Regions from separate parts of the Homo sapiens genome. Here regions 1 and 3 are each linked to region 2. Evidence: promoter capture Hi-C in 16 types of primary human blood cells and fetal thymus (Javierre and others, 2016). All regions are on one chromosome and are shown on one strand. Each heading gives the region's core, a stretch centred on a gene start or on the middle of the fragment in contact. The rest is flanking DNA. Distances are from core to core; before and after follow the strand shown.

The links. Contacts are between HindIII fragments. The CHiCAGO score rates a contact against its expected background, and 5 or more counts as called.
Region 1: a fragment that was not itself captured here is called in contact with the fragment with the promoter of ACSM1 in region 2 in 1 of 17 cell types (naive B cells); the score reaches 5.5 in naive B cells.
Region 3: a contact is called between a fragment that was not itself captured here and the fragment with the promoter of ACSM1 in region 2, in 1 of 17 cell types (fetal thymus). The highest score is 5.1, in fetal thymus.

The regions. Positions count from the first base shown.
Region 1 is chr16:20,376,638-20,379,337 of GRCh38, forward strand. The region is part of intron 3 of PDILT (protein disulfide isomerase like, testis expressed); the gene reads right to left. Among named protein-coding and RNA genes, the nearest start is that of UMOD, 25 kb to the left of the region's middle. The HindIII fragment of the contact is 9,970 bases long and covers 1-2,700 here.
Region 2 is chr16:20,696,345-20,699,044 of GRCh38, forward strand. It overlaps ACSM1 (acyl-CoA synthetase medium chain family member 1), which reads right to left and starts at 1,336. Exons shown (of 14, transcript NM_001318890.3): 1 at 1,292-1,336. It also overlaps a transcript of ACSM3 not described here. The HindIII fragment of the contact is 2,330 bases long and covers 427-2,700 here.
Region 3 is chr16:21,082,840-21,085,539 of GRCh38, forward strand. The region is part of intron 19 of DNAH3 (dynein axonemal heavy chain 3); the gene reads right to left. Among named protein-coding and RNA genes, the nearest start is that of DNAH3, 67 kb to the right of the region's middle. The HindIII fragment of the contact is 5,288 bases long and covers 1-2,700 here.

The DNA of each region.
Region 1 (2,700 bases), core at 195-2,694, 320 kb before region 2:
CTCAATAAAATATAACTGGAAAGACCACATAGCTCTGTAACCTTGGGAAAATCCTATTATCTTCCTGCAGCCCCCATTCCTCAGCTGAGATCCAAATGCCCTTTAAGGTCATCCACTCCTGACTGCCATTTCTCAGCTATAGCATGGTTGGTGTCAAGCACACAAAAGTCTTAGCTTCCAAAATTAAGACACATATACTATATCTGGGAAGACAAATTGGTGAGCCAGAAGGTACAGAAGGCTATACACAGGTGAACGTGTGTTTTTCTAGGATTATCAGTTTCACATGATGGAAAGTAATGTAAAATATTATATATTTGTATCTGCTATAGAACATTAAAACTGAACATTTTAAATAAGTTTATGAGCTAAGCATGGTGGCCTATGCCTATTTCCCAGCACTTTGGGAGACTAACGCAGGAGAATCACTTGGGGCCAGGAGTTTGGGACCAGTCTGGGCAACATAGCGAGACACTCAGCTCTACAAAAAACAAAAGAAAATTAGCCAGGCATGGTGGCATGTGTCTGTAGTCCCGGCTACTTGGGAGGCTGAGGCAGAAGGATTGCTTGAGCCCAGGAGTTCAAGGCTGCAGTGAGCTACAATCAGCCTGGGAGACAGAGTGAGACCTTGTCTCTAAAATAAATAAATAAATTTATGAGATAAAGCAATATTCGTTGTGAGTAGCTTTGAACTACATCCACAGACTGTTATTCATTTACGCACTCATTTATTTCTTCCCTCATTTATTTACTTGGCAAATATGTACCGAGTGCTTACTATCAAGTGCTGTACTCAGCCCTGGAGATATAAGGATGAACAGAAACAAACACATTACCACCATTTCACAGCTCTCATTCTGTCGAGGAAGACAACAATCAAATAAATGCATGAACAAGGGCATCATTACACCCAAAGGAAATGTTTGAAATCAAAGTTCTGCGAGTCTGTAGCAAAGATGCCTGACTTAGACTGTGAAGTCAAGGAGGACTTCCTGGAGGAAATTATGGATGAGCTGTAAAATAAAGAATGCACTGGGCCAGGCGCAGTGGCTCATGCCTGTAATCCCAGCACTTTGGGAGGCCGAGGAGGGCGGATCACAAGGTCAGGAGATCGAGACAATCCTGGCTAACACAGTGAAACCCCATCTCTACTAAAAATACAAAAAATTATCCAGGCATGGTGGCACACGCCTGTAATCCCAGCTACTTGGGAGGCTGAGGCAGGAGAATCGCTTGAACCCAGGAGGTGGAGGTTGCAGTGAGCCAAGTTCGCACCACCGCACTCCTGCGCGGGAGATAGGGCAAGACTCTGTCTTTAAAAAGAAAAAAAAAAAGAAAGAAAGAAAAGAATGCTCTGGAGTTAACTAGGAGGCATTAAGGAGAGGGAAAGTCTTCTAGGAGAAACAGCCTATACAAAGTCCTGCAGCAGGACAAATTGCTACCTGAGGCTGGATGAATGCACCCTGAGCTACTAAATCAACTGCAAAGGCTCTACCTTCGTTATATTTGTTTTATTTCATGAGAACATGAAGGCTTTTCAAAAACTTATAATAAAGTATATTTACATGCAGAAAGGTGCATAAATGATAATGTATGGTTAGATGGATTTTTACAAAACGAACACACTTGTGTGACTACAACCCAAATCGAGAACTAGAACATCACCAGATCCTCAGCAGTCCCTGTTGTGCCCACTCCCAGCCTCTACTCCCCTCAATCCAAAAGTAACCACCACTCTAACTACTTCTTCTTCTCCTTCTTCTCCTTCTTGTTCTTCTTCTGCTTCCTCTTCCTCTTCTTCTCCTTCTTCTTCTTTTTATTTTACCTTAAGTTCTGGGATACATGTGTAGAACATGCAGGTCTGTTACATAGGTATACATGTGCCACGGTGCTTTGCTGTACCTATCAACCCATCACCTAGGCTTTAAGCCCCGCGTGCATTAGGTATTTGTCCTAATGCTCTCCCTTCCCTCGCCCTCCACTCCCAGACAGGCCCCAATGTGTGATGTTCCCCTCCCTGTGTCCATGTGTTCTCATTGTTCAACTCCCACTTATGAGTGAGTGTGTTTGGTTTTCTGTTCCTGTGTTAGTTTGCTGAGAATGATGACTTCCAGCTTCATCCATGTCCCCGCAAAGGACACGATCTCATTCCTTTTTATGGCTTTGTAGTATTCCATTGCCACCTTAACTTGTAACAGATTACATTAGTCTGCCTGTTCCTGAACTTCATATAAATGTTCTTGGCTCTGGTTTCATTATGTTTGTGAGATTCAGCCACAGTTTTTCATGTACTTGAAGATTCATTTCCACTGCTGTGAATATCCCACAACTTATTTGTCCATTCTCTGCTAATGGGCATTTAGTTGCTCTCATTTTAGGGCATTTTTTTTTTTTGAGACAGTTTATCCTTCTGTCACCCAGGCTAGAGTGCAGTGGTGTAGTCGTGGCTTACTGCAGCCTCGATCTCCCAGGCTCAAGCCATCCTCCCACCTCAGCCCCCTGAGTAGCTGGGACTACAGGCATGTACCACCACACCTGGCTAATTTTTATTTTTTGAGACAGAGTCTTGCTCTGTTGCCCAGGCTGGAGTGTAAGGGCTCAATCTTGGCTCACCGTACCTCTGCCTCCCGGGTTCCAGTGATTCTCCTGGCTCAGCCTCCCGAATAGCTGGGACTACAGGCACGTGCCACCACACCCCAC
Region 2 (2,700 bases), core at 86-2,585:
GACTTCACAAAGCTTAGTTTGTCTATTTCTCACCGTGCTGGACATAGTAAGTGCTCAACAAAAAGTTAGATTCTTCCCTTCTTTGTCATAATTCAGAAAACTGAGTGATGAAAGTCAGAAAGAGAAAAGCCAGTGTGCCCACAAATTATCTGAGTTATAGAAAAATGTATTTTTTCTTTCTCAAGTATTTACTATAGATGTACCATGTACAGTTTTAGATACTATTGGAGATTAATTAAACTGAAAGAGTTCCTACCCTGTTAGAGCATATCATTAAAGCACATCCTATGAAATCATTTTAAAGAACAATTTTCTGAACTGCTTAAAGTGCATTCTGAAAGCAATTTGACATGGTAGCTTTGAGAGGCAGCTGGGCTCCCCACTGTATTCCCAGATACATAGTGCCTTGAACAGCTCCTGCAACTAAGCTTTGACTTCACAGGACTTGGGACTGATAAAGCTATTTAATGAAGCAACATACTTACTGTGTTATAGGGTATCCCAGAGTTACAGAGCCAGGGCTAGATGTTTGTCTCTGTTGTCTAGCAGCTGGGTCTTTGGTGCTGTTCATGTCTCTGAACTTAAGCGCACAGTAGTAATACCTTCTTCCCAGCTCCCCATAAGGATTAGTGTGATAATTTACTTGCTGGCACTGAATGAAGTGCACGGTAAGGACTCAATAAATGTTGAGGTACCTTTTAACTCCCAGCAAATTCTGAAGCCAACCCCCTCCCCATTAGATGTTAACCATTTTTTTTGAAACTGTCACCTGGACTGGAGTGCAGTGGTGTGATCATAGCTCACTGCAGCCTCAATCTCCTGGGCTACAGTCATCCTCCTGCCTCAGCCTTTCAAGTACCTGGGACCACAGGCATGTATTACTATGCTTGGATAATTTTTTTTAGAAGGCATTCACTTTATAGAAAGTGAGCCAACTTCTGCATAGATAGAAAAGATTTCCTTCAAACATTCATCTCTGACTTTGTGCCTGTCTCCCACGGCTCACCACATTCAGAGCTGCCTGACACTAAACCAGTCCCCATTTACATGCCAGCCACTGTGCTAAACATATTACATGTACGTTCCTATTTATTCCTCTCACCCAATATCACCATTGTCATTTTGCCTCTAAAATGAAGTGCCAAGAAGTTAAGTGACTTGCCCAAGGTCACTCAACTTAAAAGTAGCATTGCCAGAACTTAAAATTGGATTACACACACACACACACACACACACACACACACACACACACACACACACAGATAGAAGCTGACCTTCACCTCTGTCTTACCTGGTACTGTTTAGGACGTAGCTGAACTAGGTCCCTGGTAGGTATGGAAAAGGAGGTTGAGCTCTCTTTTGTAGGTTCAGTTCTCTCTGATCAGGTGATCCGCAGGATTGTGCACCCAGCAGAACTTGGCTTCTGGCCACAGCGAAGGGGGACCTTGAACAGAGAACTTGTTAGGAATTGGGTAATTCAGTAGGGGGAGGAGATGCTCAGGTAAAATAGGACAGAAACAATTACAGGCCTCCACGGAGAGATAATCACTTAGAAAACAAACCATGTGGGCCGGGCGCAGTGGCTCGCGCCTGTAATCCCAGCACATTGGGAGGCCGAGGCGGGCGGATCACGAGGTCAGGAGATGGAGACCATCCTGGCTAACACGGTGAAACCCCGTCTCTACTAAAAATACAAAAAATTAGCCGGGTGTGGTGGTGGGCGCCTGTAGTCCCAGCTACTCGGGAGGCTGAGGCAGGAGAATGGCGTGAACACGGGAGGCGGAGCTTGCAGTGAGCCGAGATCATGCCACTGCACTCCAGCCTGGGAGACAGAGACTCTGTCTCAAAAAAAAAAAAAAAAAGAAAAACAAACCACGTATACGAAGTCACCTCCAATTCCGGTGGCATGGCTAGGGGTGTGAATGAACTAGATCCAATGGTGCATTTTCACTAGTTCTCTGTGGCTAACCTGCTCCCCCTTCCCAGCCCTACATCACCATAGTCTCCCTTAAATGACAGCTGAGAGTCAGTGTAGCCTAATGGATAAGAGCCTGGGCTCTGGAGGTCTGGAGGCAGAAAGGTCTGAGTTTGAGCCTTAGGTCTGCCACTTAACCTCCATGTCATCTTTGTGGACCTTCTTGCTCTGGGCCTCACCTCCCTTAATTGGTTTTCGGTTGCTTTTGAGACAGAATCTCATGCTGTCACCCAGGCTGGAATGCAATGGCATGGTCTTGGCTCACTGCAACCTCCGCCTCCCAGGTTTAATTGAGTCTCTTGCCTCAGCCTCCCAAGTAGCTGGGATTATAGGTGCCCGCCACCACACCCAGTTAATTTTTGTATTTTTAATAGAGACAGGGTTTCATCATGTTGGCCAGGGTGGTCTTGAGCTCTTGACCTCAGGTGATCTGCCCGCCTCAGCCTCCTAAAGTGCTGGGATTACAGGCATGAGCCACAGCACCCAACACCTACCTTATTTGTAAAATAGGAATGATAACAACAATACCTACCTCCCAGGGTGTTTTCTTTGCTTCTTCATTTGTTTGTTAGAACTAGATGAAATAATTTATAAAAAGCATGTAGCACACGGTGCTGGGCATAGTCGATGTTGGCTCTTTTTATTCACTTGGGATTCTCAGAGGAACAATTTGGTATCCTGGTAAAATGCAGGGTCTTTGGAATCCCAAAGTCTTGAGCTTAATT
Region 3 (2,700 bases), core at 23-2,522, 390 kb after region 2:
AAATTAACACAAATGGCTCACGTTATATTTGTACTAGTCACAGAGGGCCAGTTTTGGCATCTATCAGTGCAGTTTCTCCCTAAGATCAAATGTTACCTTGTTCCATCTTGCTTTTTTTTTAACAGTTAAATTTTTATTATTTTTTAAATTTTTATTATTTTTTAAATTTTTCTTTTTCCATACTTTTTTTTTTTTGAGAGAGAGTCTCGCTCTGTCACCCAGGCTGGAGTGCCATGGCGCAATCTCGGCTCACTGCAACCTCTGTCTCCTGGGTCCAATGATTTTCCTGCCTCAGCCTCCCAAGTAGTTGGGATTACAGGCGCATGGCACCACGCCCGGCTAATTTTTGTATTTTTAGTAGAAATGGGGTTTCGCCATGTTGGCCAGACTGCTCTCGAACTCCTGACCTCAGGTGATTTGTCTGCCTCGGCCTCCCAAAGTGTTGGGATTACAGGCGTGAGCCACTGCACCTGGCCAGACCAGGAGATTTTTTTATAATGACTCAGAAAGCACAAAAGCAAGGAACCCAGAAGTAGTTACCGTTGAAATAACGGTCTTGGAAGACCAAGAGTGTTATAGGCACATGATGAAAAAATAACCAAAATAACACTAATTGCAAATAGGACATCAGAAATGCACCTTAGTGTAGTGATCCAAAAAGCCTTTTAGATTTGTGGCTTCCATTTCGTTTGAAACCACAGTAGCAACCCCTTTGCTGTTATCTATAAAGTCTGTGCCCCAAACGTAAGGCTCTAACTTTTTCTACCTACGTTCTGTAAATGACCAGAACCCCCAGCACAGCCATGGCCTTGCTTCAGAAGATCCAGCTTCTAGACTTGAGTGCTACAGATGGCTCATCCTTCAGATCCCCCTGCCAGAGCTAGCATCTGTGGCAGTGGATCTCCTAAGTTAGGCATCAGGGCAGAGAATGACATCCCCAGGCCTGGGGCTGTCCCCAGGGCGGCCTGTGGTGTGACCTACATACACTGCAGGGAGGAATGGGCTCTGCCTAGGGGCAGTCCGGAGAGTATCTAGGGGCCTTTGTCCTTTCTGAACTTGCCTCTTAACTGCTCAGCCCACTGGGCTTCCATTTAGGGGCTCACTCCTTGGGAGCCACTGTCCTAGGGCTGTGCTCCCCGGCCCTCTCTCACTGTGGTTTACTGCCCCCTACTGCCCGCTCCCTTCCTCTGACCGGACCTTTTTTGCCTTTTTGACTTTTCCAGGCTGAGTCAAACAGTGTAGAAAAATTCCAATCCCCTTTCCCACCACCAACTAGCCATCTGACAATTCATCTCTCCAAGTCTCAGTTTTCCAATCCGTGAAATGGAGATAATAATAATCTCCACTTCAAAGGCCTGTTTTAAGGGTGAAATGTGAGAATCCAAATAAAGTATACAACACAGTACCCAGCACCATAGCTGGTACTCAGTACATTTTCAATATCATCATTATTATTATGGTTAGAATTTTTTTACTTTATTTATTTATTTATTTATTTATTGAGACAGGGTCTTTCTCTGTTGCCCAGGCTAGACTGCAGTGGCGCAATCACAGCTCACTGCAGCCTCAACCTCCCAGGCTCAAGTGATGCTCCCACCTTAGCTTCCCTAGCAGCTGGGACTACAGGCATGTGCCACCACGCCCGGCTAATTTTTTTGTATTTCTTGATGGGGTTTTGCAGTGTTGGCCCGGGCTGGTTCTCAGACTCCTGGGCTCAAGCGATCCACTTGCCTCGGCCTCTCAAAGTCCTGGGATTATAGGCGTGAGCCACGGCACCTGACTGGGATTTTTTAAATTTAAATTAATTAATTTTTTAAATAGATGGGTCACACTATGTTGCCCAGGTTGGCCTCAAGCTCCTGGCCTCAAGTGATCCTCCTGTCTCGGCCTCCTAAAGTGCTGAGATTAGTGGTGTGAGCTACCTCGCTTGGCCTGGTTGGGATTTTCTGAGTGCCCACATACAAGAATAGCATCATAGAGGAAGCACCAGGTGGAGCAGATGGCTTTCCCGGCCCCGCGGCATGTTCTCCAAATGCCATCGACAAGGACACTCTTGATAGTGCCATCTCATAGAGAAACCTGGCACTACCAGAGGCCACCTGTCCCACCTAAGCTCCCTAACCCCCCCATCCCCCCGATGCAGGTCAAAGTCCTAGTTAGGCTGGGTCCGTAGAGAGAGGCACCCCGTGAGCACCAGCTGACAGCAACTCCTCCTCTGCGGATCCCTCTGCTGGGGCGTTTCAAAACCAGAAGTCATGGCCAGGCACTGTGGCTCACGCCTGTAATCCCAGCACTTTAGGAGGCCAAGGCAGGAGGATCACTTGAGGCCAGGAATTTGAGACCAGCCTGGGCAACATAGTAAGACCCCCCCCATCTCTATTTTAAAAATCAATTAATTAAAATTACAATTAAAAAATATCCCAGCCAGGCACGGTGGCTCATGCCTATAATCCCAGAACTTTGGGAGGTTGAGGCGGGTGGATCACTTGAGGTCAGGAGTTCAAGACCAGCCTGGCCAACATGGTGAAACCCCATCTCTACTAAAAATACAAAAATTAGCAGGGCATGGTGGCACGTGCCTGCAATCCCAGCTACTCAGGAGACTGAGGCAGGAGAACTGCTTGAATGTAGTGAGCCGAGATCATGTCACTGCACTCCAGCCTGGGTGACACAGTGAGATTCCACCTCAAAAAAAAAAAA